6 separate regions of the Homo sapiens genome follow, and all the other regions are linked to region 1. The links are contacts of gene promoters, found by promoter capture Hi-C in human tissues and cell types (Jung and others, 2019). All regions are on one chromosome and are shown on one strand. Each heading gives the region's core, a stretch centred on a gene start or on the middle of the fragment in contact. The rest is flanking DNA. Distances are from core to core; before and after follow the strand shown. Region 1 holds the start of CLASRP (CLK4 associating serine/arginine rich protein). Region 2 has its middle 13 kb from the start of FOSB. Region 3 holds the start of ERCC2 (ERCC excision repair 2, TFIIH core complex helicase subunit). Region 4 holds the start of CEACAM16 (CEA cell adhesion molecule 16, tectorial membrane component). Region 5 overlaps CEACAM16-AS1 (CEACAM16, CEACAM19 and PVR antisense RNA 1). Region 6 overlaps CKM (creatine kinase, M-type).

Region 1 (3,112 bases), core at 436-2,935:
TTAGCCCTAAATCACACTACACTTCTCTTGTCTTCATCCCCGTAGGCCCGTTCCTCCCGCCGTCAGCCCTGCTGCCAGACCCTGACTTCTTCTCTGGCACCGTGTCCCTGCCCGGCCTGGAGCCCCCTGGCGGGCCTGACCTCCTGGACGATGGCTTTGCCTACGACCCTACGGCCCCCACACTCTTCACCATGCTGGACCTGCTGCCCCCGGCACCGCCACACGCTAGCGCTGTTGTGTGCAGCGGAGGTGCCGGGGCCGTGGTTGGGGAGACCCCCGGCCCTGAACCACTGACACTGGACTCGTACCAGGCCCCGGGCCCCGGGGATGGAGGCACCGCCAGCCTTGTGGGCAGCAACATGTTCCCCAATCATTACCGCGAGGCGGCCTTTGGGGGCGGCCTCCTATCCCCGGGGCCTGAAGCCACGTAGCCCCGCGATGCCAGAGGAGGGGCACTGGGTGGGGAGGGAGGTGGAGGAGCCGTGCAATCCCAACCAGGATGTCTAGCACCCCCATCCCCTTGGCCCTTCCTCATGCTTCTGAAGTGGACATATTCAGCCTTGGCGAGAAGCTCCGTTGCACGGGTTTCCCCTTGAGCCCATTTTACAGATGAGGAAACTGAGTCCGGAGAGGAAAAGGGACATGGCTCCCGTGCACTAGCTTGTTACAGCTGCCTCTGTCCCCACATGTGGGGGCACCTTCTCCAGTAGGATTCGGAAAAGATTGTACATATGGGAGGAGGGGGCAGATTCCTGGCCCTCCCTCCCCAGACTTGAAGGTGGGGGGTAGGTTGGTTGTTCAGAGTCTTCCCAATAAAGATGAGTTTTTGAGCCTCCGGGGTTTCGTCTGTTCTGGGCTTGGGAAACGCCCTAGTCCCTTAGTAGCAAAGAAAGCCTCCAGGCTGGGGGCTCAGGCCTGTCATCCCAGCACTTTGGGAGGCCAAAGCAGGAGGATCGCTTGAGCTCACGAGTTTGAGACCAGCCTGGGCAACATGACGAAACCTAGTCTCTACAAAAAATACAAAAATTAGCCGGGCGTGGTGCTGCGCGCCTGTAATCCCAGCTACTCTAGAGGCTGAGGTGGGAGGATCGCTTGAGCCCAGGAGGTGGACGTTGCAGTGAGCCAAGACCGCACCACTGCACTCCAGCTTGGGCGACAGCGCGAGGCTGTGTCTCAAAAAAATAAAAAATGAAAATGAAAATAAAAAATGAGACCGGGCATGGTGGCTCATGGCTGTAATCCCAGCACTTTGGGAGGCCGAGGCAGGTGGATCACCTGAGGTCAGGAGTTTGAGACCAGCCTAACCAAAATGGTGAAACCCCATCTCTACTAAAAATACAAAAATTAGCCGGGCTTGGTGGCGCGCGCTTGTAGTCCCAGCTACTCGGGAGGCTGAGGTGGGAGAATAGCTGAAACCCAGGAGGCAAAGGTTGCAGTGAGCCTAGATCGCGCCACTGCCTTCTAGCCTGGGAGACAAAGAGAGACTCCGTCTCAAAAAAATAAAATTAAATAAATAAATAAAATAAAAAAGATAAAAAGATAAAGCATCCAAGCTCTTCCCTTCTCCGCTCTCCCACTTCTTCCTCGGGATCCCGCCCCTCTCGACTCTAGGACCCGCCTCTCTCGTCGGCGGAAGTGCGCTGCGCGGCCCTCCACCATGCTCCGCCCCCTCCCCCTAGCGCGGCCTTTCATTTCCGCTTCCGGTGCGGGCCGCGCGCGAGCGCAGCGGTGGGAGGCGGCGACCAGCCGGTGAGTGCAGGCTGCGGCTCGACCTCCCGGTTTTCGGGCAGGCCTCAGCCCAGCTTCTCCCTTTCCTCAGGCTCTCCCCATGCTGCTGTGGGCTTCTGCTGCGTCCCGGCCCCGAGGATCGCTCGTCCCTCACCCCATTAGGCCTGACGGGCCTCAGGCCGAGCCCGTGCCCCGGCTGTGGGCCAGAAGTTGCCGCGTCGAACTCGGCCTTCGGCCCAGCAGCTTATCACAGGCCCCGCCCCCTTGTCAAAAAAAAAAACAACAAAAAAAAAACCCAGCCCAAATCCTCAGGCCGCGACGCGATCCACAAGCCCCGTCCAAACCTTCGGTCTCCGCCCTTTCCCGCAAGCCCTGCCCCCAAGCTCAGCCCACGCCCTCCTGTCAGCCAGCTCCGCCTCTCTCAGGCTCTACGCTCTTTTTCTTTGGATGCTCTCCCCACCCCGCCATCTAGATCCCATCTTTAGACCTCAGCTTCACTCTGGTCTCCTTGCAACACTCCCTCCCCGTGTTCCCACTCCCTCTAGCATCTTCATCTTCCGCCACGCCCTTCACCTGTCCTCGACCTCCACCTTCATACAACTGCACTGTTCCCTTAAAAGCTTTCTCCGATTTCCTCCACCTGCCTTCATCCTTATTCTCCTTATCCCTCTACCACCCAGACTCATACCCAACCCCACGCATGGCCCCTAGTGGGAGCCTTTTCAGTTCTTCTCTTTCTCTTGAGCTCCAGCCTTAAGTGCTCAGGGTTTGCCTTCTGACCCTACTTCAAACACTGCTGATGTTTCAAAACCTTTCATTCCCGACTCCAGCGCGTGGAATCTAGGACACCCCTTTCCCAGTGATGCTCACCTCAGAATCACCTGAGGGTTTTTCAGAATGCCCAAGCTTCTAGATCGAAGTTGTTAGGGATGGACTTGAACATCTGGCATACTGTTCTGCAGCTTCACTTCTGCTCCCTGAAGCTAAGAGATGTGTTGTTTGGGATCGACTCTGCCACCAACTTGTTAGATGACTTTGATTCTGCCCATACGGGTTTCACAGACCATCTGACTTTCCTGGTCCCTTCATCCCTCAGGTTGAGGCCCCAGGCTTGGCCTCACCACAATGTGGCACGAGGCTCGGAAGCATGAGCGGAAGCTTCGAGGCATGATGGTCGACTACAAGAAGAGGGCGGAGCGGAGACGGGAGTATTATGAAAAGATCGTGAGTAACTGGCCTTTTGTCTGGGGTGAGGGACCCTGGGTTGGGGGGCACAGCTGGTCATCCTGGTAAAATCTGGGCTTGGAAGTATGTCAAGACAAGAGGCTCATTTCCTCAGGAGTATATTCATTAATCTTTTCTTGAGGATAATCATTGGTGGGAT
Region 2 (3,112 bases), core at 318-2,817, 420 kb after region 1:
GAGAGTAAATGAGTTCATATGGAAAGCATTTAGAAAATGCCTGGCAGAAAACAAACATTTACAAAATACCTGTTTTGATTGTTGTCAGTATTATTACTTCCTCTGTGTGTGTCCTTGGATGTGCGTGTGCGTGTCTAGAATCTGGGTTGCAGATGCAGGCTTTAGCTCTGTAGTCCTGTGTTACTGGGTACCCAAATGCCCTGAGTCTCACTTTCCTTCCTATACCATGGGCATGTTCCAGACCTTCTCCAGGGCCAGTTGGGACTCAATGAAGCTGCATCTGGAACACCCCAATGGCTACAAGGCCCAGCCGTGGTCTGGTTTCAGGAAAGGTAAATGAAGGGTGAAGTTGGGACGGGATGGAATTGAGGTTCAAATCACTCCATGGGACTGGGAAAGTGGGAAGTGAAAGAGGGATGAAAGAGCGCATTTGAAGCAGGCAGACTGAGGGTCAGACTCCAGAAAGGACTTCCTCCTAGGACTATTTTGGGGCTGGGAACTATAAGAAATGAACTGTTTTGCTGGGCCTGGTGGCCTACACCTGTAATCCCAGCACTTTGGGAGGCCGAGGCAGGCAGATCGCAAGGTCAAGAGATCAAGATCATCCTGGTCAACCTGGTGAAACCCCATCTCTACTAAAAATACAAAAATTAGGTGGGCGTGGTGGCGCGTGCCTGTAGTCCCAGATACTCAGGAGGCAGAGGCAGGAGAATCACTTGAACTCGGGAGGCGGGGGTTGCAGTGAGCCGAAATTGCGCCACTGCACTCCAGCCTGGTGACAGAGCAAGACTCCCTCTCAAAAAAAAAAAAAGAAAGAAAAACATGAGCTGTTTGGAGAGCTGCCTGGAGGAAGAGAAACCAGCCTGAGTTTCACAGGCTAGTGGAATTTGGAGGGGGGCAATAATAGCAATAACAATAGGCCAGGCACGGTGGCTCACACCTGTAATCCCAGCACTTTGGGAGGCCGAGAAGGGTGGATCACCTGAGGTCTGGAGTTCGAGACCAGCCTGGCCAGCATGGCAAAACCCTGTCTTTACTAAAAATACAAAAAAAATTAACCAGGCTTGGTGGTGTGTGCCTGTAATTCCAGCTACTCGGGAGGTTGAGGCAGGAGAATAACTTGAACCCGGGAGGTGTGGGTTGCAGTGAACCGAGATCATGCCACTGCACTCCAGCCTGGGCGACAGAGTGAGACTTTGTGTCAAAAACAATAATAATAATAATAATAATGCACTAGGTGCAGATACTGATAAAGGCTTTGTGAGGAATTTTCTTTCTTTCTTTTTTCTTTTTTTTTTGAGACAGAGTCTCACTCTCTTTCCTGGCTGGAGTGCAGTGGCACGATCTCGGCTCACTGCAACCTCCGCCTCCCGGGTTCAAGCGATTCTCCTGCCTCAGGCTCCCAAGTGGCTGGGATAACAGGTGCCCACCACTACGCCCAGCTAATTTTTTTTTTTTTTTTAGATAGGGTCTGGCTCTGGCTCTGTCATACAGGCTGGAGCACAGTGGCATGATGACAACCCACTGCAGCCTTGACCTCCTGGGCTTAAGTGATCCTCTTGCCTCAGCCTCCTGAGTAGCTGGGGCTACAGGCTTATTTTTTTGTAGAGATGGGGTCTCACTCTGTTGCCCAGGCTGGTCTCAAACTTCTGGGCTCAAGCAATCCTCCTGCCTTGGCTTCCCAAAGTGCTGGGTTTACAGGAGTGAGCCACCATGTCTGGCCATTTGAGGAAATTTTTATTTTTGTCTGTCTTGTTTCCTGCTCTGTCCCCAGCACCTAGAGTGTGTGACTGCAGTGTGTGTGTGTGTGTGTGTGTGTGTGTGTGTGTGTGTGTAGGTGTGCTGATTAAATATTTGAATGGCTGATTGAATGAACGAATGAATGTCATCCTACAACCACTTGTGAGTCCTGGTCTTAGGGGAAGGCTGGGCTGGGGCCCTGGCCTCTGGGATCCCTCTTGTGCCAGTCCCCCAGCCCTGCTGTTCCCACAGCTCTGTGCTGAAGAGGGCGTGGAGGGGGCCAGGGAAGGGAGTGTCAGGCAGCCAGCCGGCTGCCTGCCCTGGACAGCAGCCCAGAGTGTCTGCAGGAGGGAGAGGGTAGTTCAGGAGCCTGAGTCACCCTGGGAGAAACCCCAGCCACATACCTGGCCGCTGACATCACCCGGCCAGGGCACCCCCGGCAGCCTAGACAAGCTGACTGAATCACAGGCGGAATTCAGCCACCCCGGGCACGTGGCCTGCTGTGACCCCCCGCAACACCCCCGAGTGGCCGTCTGGCTGCGGGGGTTGGGCCGGGCACACAGGGGTCAGTGAGGGGGCATGGGGCCTGAGTCAGGGACAGGGTGGCTACAGCCAGAGACCACCCAGCCACAGGCGTCCATGTGGGGCAGGAAGGAGAAAGTTTGGGAAGGAGAGCCTGTGGGGAGGCCCTGGCGGGTGAGGAGGAAGCACGTGTGGGTGTGACGGGGAGGCTGCGGCTTGTGGGCAGCGGCTGGGCGACCCACAGGGGTGGGATGGGGTCTGAGTGTTTGCGCAGAGAATCACCAAATCGTAAGAGACTTGGTCGTAAGAGTCAGTCAGGAGGACAATGGAATCACCAATGTGCTTACACACGCAAAGGCACACACGCACACTCAACACCCGGCCTGGGGAGGCCCTGACTCCACCCACCCCAGGCCAGCGGGGCCTCACTACCCATAAGCCTGCAAGTTCCCTAAGGGACTGAGGCCTAAGGGACAGTTTCCTCATCTGTTGAGTGGGGGTATTAACAAGCATTATTAGGCCAGGCACAGTGACTCGTGAGGCAGAGGTAGGCGGATCCCTTGGAGGCCAGAAGTTCAAGACCAGCCTGGACATCATAGCAAGACCCCTTCTCTACAAAGAAAAAATTTAAAAATTAGCTGGATGTGGTGGTGTGCACCTGTAGTCCCAGGTACTCAGGAGGCTGTGGAGGGTGGATTGCTGGAGTGTTGGAGTTTGAGACTGCAGTGAGCTATTGATTGCACCACTGTACTCCAGCCTAGACAACAGAACAAGATCCTATAGCAAAAAAAAAAAAAAAAAAAAATCACTATTATTGTAATAGCTATGCTTACGGGGAACATACTTTCTG
Region 3 (3,112 bases), core at 1-2,500, 330 kb after region 1:
GTCTTAGGCAAGTACCTTCACCTCCCCAGACCTCAGTATCCCTATCTCTAAAATGAGCCTAAAGCCAGGCGTGGTGGCTCACACCTGTAATCCCAGCACTTTGGGAGGCTGAGGCAGGTGAACCACCTGAGGTCAGAAGTTCAAGACCAGCTGGGCCAACAAGGTGAAACCCCGTCTCTACTAAAAATACAAAAAATTAGCCAGATGTGGTGGCGCGCACCTGTAATTCAATCTCAAAAATAAATAAATAAAATAAAATGGGCCTAATAATAAAACCTTCCTCATAACATGACTATGAGGATTGTGAGAAATTGCAGGTTAAATATTTGGCACAGTAGCTGATATATAGTGAACTTTTCTCCCTTCTTTTTTAAGAGACAAGTGTCACTATTGCCCAGGCTGGAATGCAGTGGCACAATCATGGCTCACTGCAGCCTCCAACTCCTGGCCTCAAGCGATCCTCCTGCCTCAGCCTCCCGAGTAGGTGGGATTACAGGCGCCCGCCACCACACCTGGCTAATTTTTGTATTTTTAGTACAGACGGGGTTTCACCGTGTTGGCCAGGCTGGTCTCCAACTCCTGACCTCAAGTGATCCGCCCGCCTCGTCCTCCCAAAGCTCTGGGATTACAGGCGCGAGCCACCGCGCCCAGCCTATTCACCATTATTGTTTTAGATAACGGAAGATTATGGGGTCCTGGATTCCCAGGGACCTCGGACTTCTAAAATCCAGACGTCCTGCAATCTGTCTTAGGCCCAGGCGTGGCAGCCCCACCGGTCGAGTGGGCGGGTCGGGCCCACCGGCCACCCACCTTGGCGTCCAGCGTGCGTTTGAGCTCCCGCATGTAGGAGAACTGCTCGGGGTAGATGTAGTCGTACGGGAAGTAGACCAGGAGCCCGTCCACGTTGAGCCTGGCGGCAGGGGCTGCTGGGTCAGTTCCCGTCCCCTCAGCCCCTCTCCCGCCTCCACAGTGCCCGGTCGTCGAGCCCAGAGAAGGGTGACGGGCCCGGCGCCCCCGGTAACCCTCAGGTCCTCAGGAGCCTCGGGGCCCCCTCAGTGTCTCCTCGCTATCACTGCTGCTCCCTGCGGCTGCCCCCGTCCCACCCCTTCACCCTCCCCTCGCCCCCTTGGGGACCCAGGCGCGCCCACCGATGACCCCATCTTCAAGACCCCCCGCGCCCGCTAGCGAGCGCGACCCCCAGCCCCCTTCTCACTTCATGGCGCCGGCCGGACTGTGCAGCGGGGTCGACCCGCCTCCCTCATGAATATTCAGCGAGAGGCCGGGTCGTGGACATCCTCGAGGGCTCGCTCCACCTATATTACGAGACCATTGGCTAACCTGCCCGTCAATCCGCTAGGGCAGAGCCAATCGGGATACTGCGCGTGCGCACGGAAAAGCGAGGGCGGCTGACTCTCGGGTGAGGCGGTGCGGGAGGCGTCACTGAGGATCGTCGAGGGCCAATCAAAAAGAAAACATGGAAGGGAAAGAGCCGAGAGACTCGATCTCATTCACTAGAATTTGGTCCTCCTGCGCCTGCCAAGATTGTCTGAGTATTGATCGAACCCAGGAGTTCGAGATCAGCTTGAGCAAGATAGCGAGAACCCCCGCCCCTCCACCTCGTCTCAAAAAAAAAAAAAAATCGTCTCAGTAGCGAATAGTCTAACGGAGAATGACAGGGAAATTGGTGATCCTTTCTGGGCCCAAGAGTTAGAAATGGCTTTGCAGGCCGGGCGCGGTGGCTCAAGCCTGTAATCCCAGCACTTTGGGAGGCTGAGGCAGGTGGATCACCTGAGGTCGGGAGTTCAAGACCAGCCTGACCAACATGGAGAAAACCTGTCTCTACTAAAGATACAAAATTAGCCGGGCGTGCTGGCAAATGCTTGTAATCCCAGCTACTCGGGAGGCTGAAGCAGGAGAATTGCTTGAACCTGGGAGGCAGAGGTTGCAGTGAGCAGAGATGGCGCCGTCGCACTCTAGCCTGGGCAACAAAAGCGAAACTCCATTTCAAATATTAATAATAATAACTAATAAATAAAACATAAATGCTAGCTTTTGTTTGTTTCTTCAACAAATAGCTATGTGGCATCTACCATGTGTCTGATCCTGTGCTGGCCCCTGGGAACAGAAAGGTGACCATGACAGCCTCAGCACCTGCCCTCAAAGAACAGATTTTTTTCCTTGAGACAGGGTCTTTCTCTGTCGCCAAGGCTGGAGTGCAGTGGCACAGTCACAGCTCACTGCAGCCTCCACCTCTTGGGCTCAAGCGATCCTCCCACCTCAGCTTCCAGAGTAGCTGGGACCACAGGTGTGCACCACCAAGCCCAGCTAAGTTTTATTTTTTAAATTTTTTTAGAGACGAGGTCTCACCACGTTGCCCAGGCTGGTTAAACTCGCAGGTTCAAGTGATCCTCTCCCCTCAGCCTTTCAAATTGTTGGGATTACAGGGGTGAGGCACCAGGCCTGGCCTCAAAGAACAGATATTAAATATACAAATGAATATATGATTACAGCCTGGAGTGGTGGCTCGTGCCTGTGGTTCCAACACTTTGGAAGGCCAAGGCGAGTACATTGCTTGAGCTCAGGAGCTAGAGACCAGCCTGGGCAACATGGTGAAAACCCGTCTCTACAAAAAATGCAAAAATTAGCTGGGCGTGGTGGCGTGCACCTGTAGTCCCAGATACTCAGGAGGCTGAGGTGGGAGAATCACCTGGGCCTGGGAGGCAGAGGTTGCAATGGGCAGTGATTGTGCCACTGCACTCCAGCCTGGGCAACAGGAGTGAAAACCTATCTCAAATGTGTGTGTGTGTGTGTGTGTGTGTGTGTGTGCGCACGTGTATAATCACAAGTACAAAAGTGCTGTGAAGGAAAACTTCAAGTCACCATAAAGATTGATTATGGGCTGGGTGCAGTGGCTCATGCCTGTAATCCCAGCACTTTGGGAGGCCAAGGCAGATGGATCACGAGGTCAGGAGTTCAAGACCAGCCTGGTCAACATGGTGAAACCCTATCTCTACTAAAAAAAAAAAAAAAAAAAAAAAAGCCAGGCATAGTGGCATGCATCTGTAATCCCATCTACTCGGGAGGCTAAAGCAGGAGAATTGCTTGAACCCAG
Region 4 (3,112 bases), core at 408-2,907, 340 kb before region 1:
GATGGGGGCAGACTAGGAAGGGTGGATGTGACGATAGAGGGCCTCTAGAGCCCGGCCTGGTCACACTCCGCAGGCAGACAGCAGATCACCAGGAACCTGAGCCTCTCTGAAGACTCCTCTCTCTGTGTCATCCACACCTGGTGTCCAGTTCCACAAACATGCTGTGAGCCTCTGCTCTGTGCCAGGTGATTTGCTGGGCAGTGCTGGGGACACAGTGGTGACAGCCCAGCCGTGCCCAGCTGAGGCTCCCAGGCCAGTGGGGGAAAAAGACCCAGCCCCAGACAGCGAGAACCCAAGGCAGTCAGGGCTGAGACAGGGAATTCCAGGCCCTGAAGTCCAGGAGGGCTTCCTGGAGGAGAGGGTTTGGGGAAGGCAGTGGAATAGAGCAGAGGGAAGCAGGGATATTCTGGGTAGAGTGCAAGTGAAACAGAAGAACTGAAGCAGAGGGTTCCCGGAAGCAAGTGGTATTCTATGTAGCTGGTCAGGTGGGCAGGAGTCAGGCCGGGCAGGGCCTCCTGGGCTACAGTGAGGAACCTGGGCTTCCTCCCAAGGGCACTGGGGAGCCACAGCAGGTTCTGAGCACGGAGGGGCAGAGGCAGGTTTTTGTTTTGGAAAGAGCCTCTGTCTGCCATGTGGAGGGGCAATGGGAGTCGGGGAGACCAGGGCCAGAGACTAGGGAGGAGGCTGGTGGGGAGACAGGAGGACCCAGGCAAGGTGGGGTGGTGGAGTGGTCACCTAGACCAGGGCAGGGGCTTCAGGGAGGGAGAGAAGATATACGTAGAGTCAGTTGCCAGAAGGGGTGGCGTGTTCGGGGAGTAGGGGGAGGCATCAGGGATGAGGCCCCAGGTCTCTTTTCCCAGCGATGAGGTGGGTAGTGGCGCCTTCCCTGATAAGGGCACCAGGGGAAGATACACTTCTGGGGGAAGATGCCAAGGTCAGTTTGGGACAAGGTGAGTGAGAGGTGCCCAGGGACATCAGGGAGGCATCCTGATTGATACTGGGATGAGGTCCCAGTGCTCTGGGCCAGGACGCAGAAGAGTGAGGTGAGGTCACAGGTGGGGAGAGGGGAGCAGGAGGCGCCAGGACATCCTCTGTGCCTCTCACCTGGCCTCACCCGCACCTCCTCAGGGCCTTCTCCCCCTTGTTAGAGCCCTGCCCCACGAGGGCAGCCCAGGACACAGTGCTGGAGGCAAACCAGGACAGGTGAGCACAGGTGTGGCCCCCTGCCCGGAAGCAGGCTGCAGAGGCCTCAGAGGAACCAGGACTCAGAAGCCATCAGGATGCAGGTCATAAGAACACAGCTATCAGCAGCTCTGGCACCACAACCCCCTCGGCTCCTGCCCAGCATCATCTCAGAGACACCTTCCCTGTTACCCTCCCTCCACCCCAATTTAAAGTAGCAAACCAGGCCAGGGGCAGTGGCTCATGGCTGTAATCCCAGCACTTTGGGAGGCCAAGGTGGGAAGATCACTTGAGGCCAAGAGTTTGAGACCAGGCAGAGCAACATAGCGAGATCCCATCTCTACAAAAAATAAAATGGCAAATCCCCTTTCTGACTTTATTTTTCAATCTGACGTGGAAGATATTTACCTTTCCTTTATTTACTCCGCAAATGTCGGCCCCCTGAGGGCAGGGATTTCATCCGTCTTGTGCACGGCTGCATCCTCAGCGCCTAGAACAGCACCTGGCAAACAATAGGTGCTCATTCAGTATTTGTCCAATAAGTGAATGAGTGATTTACTGAGCATTTACTCTGCGCCAGTCGTGGTAAGTACTGTACTTCACATGTGTATCTACTTAATCCTTTCAACAGCCCTGTGATGTGAGTACTATTGTTTTCCCTATTTTACAAATAAGGAAACTGAGGCTTGGCAGAGTCCATAAATTGCCCAGGGTCCTGGAGGTAGGAAACAGTGGAACTATGTCCAGAGCCTATACTTTTTTTTTTTTGAGATGGAGTTTCACTCTTTTGCCCAGGGTTCAAGCAATTCTCCTGCTTCAGCCTCCCAAGTAGCTGGGATTACAGGTGCCCGCGACCACACCCAGCTAATTTTTGTATTTTTAGTAGAGACAGGGTTTCACCATGCTGGCCAGGCTGGTCTTGAACTCCTGACCTCAGTTGATCCACCCACCTCGGCCTCCCAAAGTGCTAGGACTACAGGCATGAGCCACTGCGTCCGGCCATGAGCCACCACGCCCGGCCAGAGCCTATACTTTTAATAACAGGCATACCAATCAGACCCACGTCCACCAGGCTCTGGCTTAAATCCCTGACTTGTAGCCTCTCACTAACTGCTGTCAACAAACCTGAAGTAGGGTCCATATCATCTCTATTTTTTTGTTTGTTTTTGAAATGGAGTCTTGCTCTGTCACCCAGGCTGGAGTGCAGTGGCAGGATCTCGGCTCACTGCAACCTCTACCTCCTGGATTCAAGCGATTCTCCTACCTCAGCCTCCCTAGTAGCTGGGATTACAGGCATGTGCCACCATGACCGGCTAACTTTTATTTTTTGTTTTTGCTTTTGTTTTTTGAGATAGAGTCTCACTCTGTCACCCAGGCTGGAGTGCAGTGGTGTGATCTCAGCTCGCTGCAACCTCCACCTCCTGGGTTCAAGAGATTCTCCTGCCTCAGCCTCTCGAGTAGCTGGGACTACAGGTGCACACCACCACACCCAGCTAATTTTTTATATTTTTAGTACATACGAGGTTTCACCATATTGGCCAGGCTGGTCTCGAACTCCTGACCTCGTGAGCCACCTGCCTTGGCCTCCCAAAGTGTTGGGATTACAGGCGTTAGCCACCACACCCAGCTAACTTATATTTTTAATAGAGACGGGGTTTCGCCATGTTGGTCAGGCTGGTTGCAAACTCCTCACCTCAGGTGATCTGCCCATCTCAGCCTCCCAAAGTGCTGGGACTACAGGCACCTGCCACCACGCCTGGCTATTTTTATTATTATTATTTTTAGTAGAGATGGGGTTTCGCCATGTTGGCCAGGCTGATCTCGAACTCCTGACCTCAAATGATCCGCCTGCCTTGGCCTCCCGAAGTGCTGGGATGACAGGCATGAGCCAGTGCACCCGGCCATCATCTCTATTTATCAGAATAATAAA
Region 5 (3,112 bases), core at 290-2,789, 320 kb before region 1:
CATAGCCTCAGGGTGTGGTGGAGGCTCAAATGTCCCCAAGACCAGGTCCTCCGTCCCTCTGGGCATCTCTGTGCTCTTTTACTGAATTATCTCAAGTAGTGCAATCCCCTTCATTAAGAGTGTAGGAAAGAATAATAACAATAACCACAAAATAATAATCACTCCTATATCTCGAGCATCAGTGTATTAGTCCATTCTCACATTGCTATAAAGACATACCTGAGACTGGGTAATTTATAAAGAAAAGAGGTTTAATCAGCTCATGATTCTGTGGGCTATACAGGCTTCTGCTTCTGGGGAGACCTCAGGAAACTTACAATCATGGCAGATGGTGAAAGGGAAGCAAGCACGTCTTCACATGGCCGGCAGGAGAGGAAGGTGGGGTGCTACACACTTTTAAACAAGCAGCACTAGGAGGATGGTGCTAAAACATTAGAAACTGCCCCCACGATCCAATCACCTCCCACGAGGTCCCTCCTCCTACACTGAGGATCATAACTGGACATGAGATTTGGGTGGGGACTAAGAACTAAACCATATCAATTGGTTTTATCCTTTTTCATGCAAGATCTCAATTCCTACAGCAGCTCTTAAGAGCAGTTACTATCATTCCCCCAACTTACAGGTGAGGAAACTAAGGCACAGAGACTTGAAAACTTTGCTCCAAGTCCCACAGTTCCCATGTGTCCTAGGTGGAGGTGCTGGTGGGGGAGTCCTCTCCATTCTTCAGCAGGGCAGAGGGTTTCAGGGCACAGCTCTGAGGACAGACAGAATTCTTTTTAGCTGTGGGAACTTGGGTACATTGCTTGCTTTTCCTCCTCGTAAAATGGAGATGATAATACTGCCCCTGCCTCCTAGGATTGTTGAAAAGATCACATTAGTTAATACAAGTAATGAGCCTGAAACATGGATGCTCAATAAATGCCTATGACCCAGACTAAGGTGTTAGATTTTAACAACAGGCAGATAGAAAAAGCAAAGATAACATTTTTCTTTTTCTTTTTTTTTTTTTTTTGAGACGGAGTTTTGCTCCTGTTGCCCAGGCTGGAGTGCAATGCATGATCTCGGCTCACCACAACCTCTGCTTCCTGGGTTCAAGCGATTCTCCTGCCTCAGCCTCCCCAGTAGCTGGGATTACAGACATGAGCCACCACACCCGGTTAATTTTTTTTTTTTTTTAGCATTTTTAGTAGAGACGGGGTTTCTCCATTTTGGTCAGGTTGGTCTCAGGTGATCCTGACCTCAGGTGATCCGCCCGCCTCAGCCTCCCAAAGTGCTGGGATTACAGGCATGAGCCACCGCGCCCGGCCATTTTTTTTTTTTTTTTTTTTTTTTTCCAGACCGGGTCTCAGCATTATCCAGACTGGAATACAGTGATGCAATCATGGCTCACTGCAGTCTCCCAAGCAGCTGGGACTACAGGCATGAGCCACCACGCCGGCCAATTGTTGCATTTTTTGTGGAGTCAGGGTCTTGTTCTGTTGTCCAGGCTGGTCTCAAACTCCTGGGCTCAAGCAATCCTTTCACTTCAGCCTCCTAAAGTGCTGGGATTACAGGTGTGAGCCACCACACCCTGCTTCAAAGATAACATTTGTCCTGGCGAACTTAATCCTACTAAGCAGGTTTGCTTCGCTTTATGTAATATATGATGTTCTTTACATTGTAATCACTGAGATTTGCTGACAAAAAGTAATAATAGGCCGGGCGCGGTGCCTCATGCCTGTAATCCCAGCACTTTGGGAGGCTGAGGCAGGCAGATCACCTAAGGTCAGGAGTTCGAGACCAGCCTAGCCAACATGGTGAAACCCCGTCTCTACTAAAAATACAAATAATTGCCAGATGTCATCATGTGCGCCTGTAATCCCAGCTACTTGGGAGGCTGAGGCATGAGAATCACTTGAACCCAGGAGGCAGAGGTTTCTGTGAGCGGAGATTGCACCACTGCACTCCGGCCTGGGCAACAAAGTGGACTCCATCTCAAAAAAAAAAAAAAGTAATAGGCAGATCACAAGATCAAGAGATTAAAACAATCCTGGCCAACATGGTGAAACCCTGTCTCTACTAAAAAATACAAAAATTAGTTGGCCGTGGTGGCACATACCTGTAGTCCCAGCTACTTGGGAGGCTGAGGCAGAAGAATTCGCTCGAACCCAGGAGGCGGAGTTTGCAGTGAGCCTAGATCGTGCCACTGCACTCCAGCCTGGAGACAGAGTGAGACTCTGTCTCAAAAAAAAAAAAAAGTAATAAAAGCAATAATAATAAATGTGTATGAGCTTTTAGAAACACGATGCTCATCATCGCAGGTTCCAGGGTAGGTGCTCTCAGCACAGGTTCTCTGACTTGCTCCTCAAAGCTTCCCTTTGAAATGGAACTATTAATACATTTCCCAAATCTCCTGTTTATTAACGTAAACATCCCTGCGAAGAGCACTGGCTAACGCCTGTTATCCCATCACTTTGGGAAGCTGAGGCAGGAGGATTACTTGAGGCCAGGAGTTCAAGAACAGCCTGGGCAACATTGCAAGACCCTATCTCTACAAAAAAAAACAAAAAACAAAAAAAAAAAACAGAATTATTTGGGCATGGCAGTACTTGTCTGTCATCCCAGCTACCTGGGAGGCTGAGATGGGAGCATTGCTTGCGCCTAGGATTTTGAGGCTGTAGTGAGCTGTGATGGTGCCATTGCACTCCAGCCTATGAGACAGAACAAGACCCTGTCTCAAAAATTAAAATAAAATAAAATAAGTTATATATCCCAGGCTTCTGCCTGGGCCCAGAAAACCTGTCTCTCCAGGGTGGGGACTTGAAAGAATTTTCTTTCTTTTTTTTTTCTTTTTTTTTTTTTTTTGAGACAGAGTCTTGCTCTGTCATCCAGGCTGGAGTGCAGTGGCATGATCTCAGCTCACTTCAACTTCTGCCTCCCGGGTTCAAGCTATTCTTGTGCCTCAGCCTCCCGAGTAGCTGAGATTATAGGCGCCTGCCACCACGCCCGGAAAGCAGAATTTTTAACAAAGGGTCTAGGGAATTTTTGTTAGCTGGGAAATTGGGGGACTCAGATGCAGAGACTGTTTGACAAAAAAAAAAAAAAAAGGAAAGTGAGACACCACAAAGAA
Region 6 (3,112 bases), core at 324-2,823, 270 kb after region 1:
AGGGGTCAGCGCCGGCAGGCACCCCCAAATGCACCCGCAACATGGACAGGGTCCGGAGGGACAGGGCGTGGGAACGTGGTGGAGGTGGGATTCTGAGGGGAACAGGGAGGTAGGAGATTCCGAGGGTGCTGGCTAGACAATGGGGACCAAGGCAGGATTTTGAGGGGCGGGGACTAAGAACGCTTTGAAGGCGGGTTTTTTTTTTTTTTTTTTCCAGAGTCTCTCTGTGTCACCCAGGCTGGAGTGCAATGGCGTGATCTCGTCTCACTGCAACCTCTGCCTCCCAGGTTCAAGCGATTCTCCTGCCTCAGCCTCCCGAGTAGCTGGGACTACAGGCGCGCGCCACTACGCCTGGATAATTTATTTATTTATTAATTTTTTAGTATAGAGACGGGGTTTCACCATGTTGGCCAGGCTGGTCTTGAACTCCTGACCCTCCTCAGCCTCCCAAAGTGCTGGGATTACAGGCGTGAGCCACCGCTCCCGGCCTGAAGGCGGATCCTTACGGGCGGGGCTTGGGCATAGGGTGGAGCTGGGTCCAGGGGCGGGGCCCTGAAAAGCGGGTGGGGCTAGTTTTGGGGGGCGGGGTTTGGCATGGGGTGGAGCCAGGTCCGGGGGGCAGGGCCCTGGAAAATGGGTGGGGCAGGGCTTAGTATAGGGGAAGGGGCGGGGCCTCGGAAAGCAGGTGGGGCGTTCAAGGTGGAGTCAGAAGTCAGCAGCTAAGGGCAGACACCCACCTTCTGCAGCCCTACGCAGAAGCGGCGGAAAACCTCCTTCATGTTGCCCCCCTTCTCCATGGAGATGACCCGGAGGTGATCCTCCTCGTTCACCCACACCAGGAAGCTCTTGTTGTCATTGTGCCTAGAGTAAGGTGCCGCAGCAAGAGGCCAAGGTGTCAGCCCCGTGGGAACCCCATTCCCAGCCCTCCCCCAAAACATCTGCCCACCGATGGGGGAAGAGGGCCTGAGGGGTGGGAGGTGGGTGGCATCTGCCTCCTCAAAACGCAGAAGCTTAAACCTGTAGACTCTAATGTCACAGGATCTGCAAAACGCTGAATCCTGGGATCAAGGACTTTTAGGGACTTAAGTCTTTGAACAGTATTATTATAGATCCTTGGGATCTCAGGATGTTTGACAAACAGAAGCTTGGGATCAGAACTGATAACACTTGGTAATCCTACATCTGGTTTCAGGACCAGAAAATCTTCCCATCGTAGTGTGTTAGCTCCCAATCCTAGCATCTCAGAAGCAGGATCTTAGAACATAAAATATTAAGGCTGGGTGCGGTGGCTCACGCCTGTAATCCCAGCACTTTGGGAGGCCGAGGCGGGCGGATCACAAGGTCAGGAGATCGACACCATCCTGGCTAACACGTCGAAACCCTGTCTCTACTAAAAAATACAAAAAAAAATCTGGGCATGGTGGCGGGCATCTGTAGTCCCAGCTACTCAGGAGGCTGAGGCAAGAGAATGGCGAGAACCCGGGAGGTGGAGCTTGCAGTGAGTCGAGATCGCGCCACTGCACTCCAGCCTGGGCAACAGAGCGAGACTCCATCTCAAAAAAAAAAAAAAAAAAGAACATAAAATATTAAGATCCGGAAATGGCCGGGTGTGGTGGCTCATGCCTGTAATCCCAGCACTTTGGGAGGCCAAGGCCGGAGGATTGCTTGAGCCCAGGAGTTCAAGACTACCCTGGGCAACATGGCAAGACCCACATATCTACAAAATTTAAAAAATTAGCAGGCATGGTGGGACACATGCCTGTAGTCCAAGCCACTGGGGAGGCTGAGGCGGGAGGATCACTTGACCTTGGAAGGTCCAGGCTGCAGCGAGCTATGATCCCACCACTGCACTCCAGCCTGGGCAACAGAGCAAGACCCTGTCTCAAAAAAAAAAAAAAAAAAACCTGAGGGCAGGCATGGTGGCTCACGCTTGTAATCCCAGCACTTTGGGAGGCTGAGGTGGGCGGATCACTTAAGGTGAAGAGTTCGAGACCAGCCTGAGCAACATGGCAGAACGCTGTCTCTACCAAAAATACGAAAACTAGCTGGGCACAGTGGCACATGCCTGTCGTCCTAGCTACTAAGGAGGCGGAGGGTGAGAGGATCGTTTGAACCCGGGAGATGGAGGTTTCAGTGAGTCGAGATCAACCCACTGCACTCCAGCCTGGGCCTCAGAGTGAGAGTCCATCTCAAAATAAATAAATAAATAAATGAGTGGAATCTTAAAACCTAAAAATATTTAAAATCTTGAAATCTTAGAATCATCCCATCTGTATATCTTAGCACCCAGGCTCCCTTCATCGATTGAAACCTAGGTTCTCTAAATCTTTGACTATCTGAATCAGGGATTCAAAGAGTCAAAACAAGTCTAGCAATAATACTTTATAATAAAGATAAGACGAATAACCAAGATGTACTGAACACTTAGTGTATACCAGGCACTGCTTTTTTTTTTTTTTTTTTTTTTGAGACAGAGTCTTGGTCTGTCGCCCAGGCTGGAGTGCAGTGATGCGATCTTGGCTCACTTCAAGCTCCGCCTCCCGGGTTCACGCCATTCTCCTGCCTCAGCCTCACGAGTAAGTAGGACTACAGGCGCCTGCCACCAAGCCCAGCTAATTTTTTGTATTTTTAGTAGAGACGGGGTTTCACCATGTTAGCCAGGATGGTCTCGATCTCCTGACCTCGTGATCCGCCCGCCTTGGCCTCCCAAAGTGCTGGGATTACAGGCGTGAGCCACCGCGCCTGGCCCAGGCACTGCTTTTAATACTTTACATAAATTAACTCATTTAATCCTCACAAGAACACCAGAAACTACAAATTATTGTGATCCCTATCCTATAGCTAGGAAACTGGGGTAGAGAAAAATAAAATAAGTTGCCCAAGGTCACAAAGCTAGTAAAGTTAGTAAATGGTAGAGCTGGGATTTGAACCTAGGGAGTACGGTTCAAGTCTGAGTTCTTATTTTTGAGACAGGTAGCTGGAGTGCAGTACCTCGGTCATGATTCACAGTAACCTCAATCCTCTGGGCCCAGCTGATCCTCAGCCTCTCGAGTAGCTGGGACCACAGGTATACGCCATCACGCCTGGCTTTTTTTTTTTTTTTTTTTTTTTT

Evidence for each region. The method cuts DNA at HindIII sites, captures the fragments that hold promoters and counts their contacts. A contact is called where the count stands out against the background at its distance.
Region 2: a contact is called between a fragment that was not itself captured here and the fragment with the promoter of CLASRP in region 1, in 1 of the 25 tissues and cell types used here (heart left ventricle).
Region 3: a contact is called between the fragment with the promoter of ERCC2 here and the fragment with the promoter of CLASRP in region 1, in 6 of the 25 tissues and cell types used here (adrenal gland, aorta, dorsolateral prefrontal cortex and 3 more).
Region 4: a contact is called between the fragment with the promoter of CEACAM16 here and the fragment with the promoter of CLASRP in region 1, in 3 of the 25 tissues and cell types used here (heart left ventricle, heart right ventricle and liver).
Region 5: a fragment that was not itself captured here is called in contact with the fragment with the promoter of CLASRP in region 1 in 1 of the 25 tissues and cell types used here (spleen).
Region 6: a fragment that was not itself captured here is called in contact with the fragment with the promoter of CLASRP in region 1 in 5 of the 25 tissues and cell types used here (aorta, lymphoblastoid cells, mesendoderm cells and 2 more).

The regions. Positions count from the first base shown.
Region 1 is chr19:45,037,360-45,040,471 of GRCh38, forward strand. It overlaps CLASRP (CLK4 associating serine/arginine rich protein), which reads left to right and starts at 1,686. Exons shown (of 21, transcript NM_007056.3): 1 at 1,686-1,749; 2 at 2,825-2,952. The coding sequence starts at 2,854. RELB (RELB proto-oncogene, NF-kB subunit) reads left to right here. Exons shown (of 12, transcript NM_006509.4): 12 at 46-833. The coding sequence ends at 431. RefSeq lists an enhancer at 1,360-2,229. The HindIII fragment of the contact is 17,106 bases long and covers 1-3,112 here.
Region 2 is chr19:45,453,783-45,456,894 of GRCh38, forward strand. No RefSeq gene overlaps it. Among named protein-coding and RNA genes, the nearest start is that of FOSB, 13 kb to the right of the region's middle. RefSeq lists enhancers at 699-758, 1,066-2,032, 1,795-2,044, 2,033-2,999. The HindIII fragment of the contact is 7,912 bases long and covers 1-3,112 here.
Region 3 is chr19:45,369,323-45,372,434 of GRCh38, forward strand. ERCC2 (ERCC excision repair 2, TFIIH core complex helicase subunit) reads right to left here and starts at 1,251. Exons shown (of 23, transcript NM_000400.4): 1 at 1,214-1,251; 2 at 811-910. The coding sequence starts at 1,218. RefSeq lists enhancers at 5-846, 1,465-1,544. The HindIII fragment of the contact is 25,658 bases long and covers 1-3,112 here.
Region 4 is chr19:44,697,494-44,700,605 of GRCh38, forward strand. CEACAM16 (CEA cell adhesion molecule 16, tectorial membrane component) reads left to right here and starts at 1,658. Exons shown (of 7, transcript NM_001039213.4): 1 at 1,658-1,767. It overlaps CEACAM16-AS1 (CEACAM16, CEACAM19 and PVR antisense RNA 1), which reads right to left. Exons shown (of 2, transcript NR_186815.1): 2 at 1,545-1,684. The HindIII fragment of the contact is 25,622 bases long and covers 1-3,112 here.
Region 5 is chr19:44,715,327-44,718,438 of GRCh38, forward strand. All of the region lies in intron 1 of CEACAM16-AS1 (CEACAM16, CEACAM19 and PVR antisense RNA 1), which reads right to left. Among named protein-coding and RNA genes, the nearest start is that of CEACAM16-AS1, 8.3 kb to the right of the region's middle. The HindIII fragment of the contact is 6,037 bases long and covers 1-3,112 here.
Region 6 is chr19:45,307,672-45,310,783 of GRCh38, forward strand. CKM (creatine kinase, M-type) reads right to left here. Exons shown (of 8, transcript NM_001824.5): 6 at 738-861. Among named protein-coding and RNA genes, the nearest start is that of CKM, 14 kb to the right of the region's middle. RefSeq lists a silencer at 859-1,016. The HindIII fragment of the contact is 3,883 bases long and covers 1-3,112 here.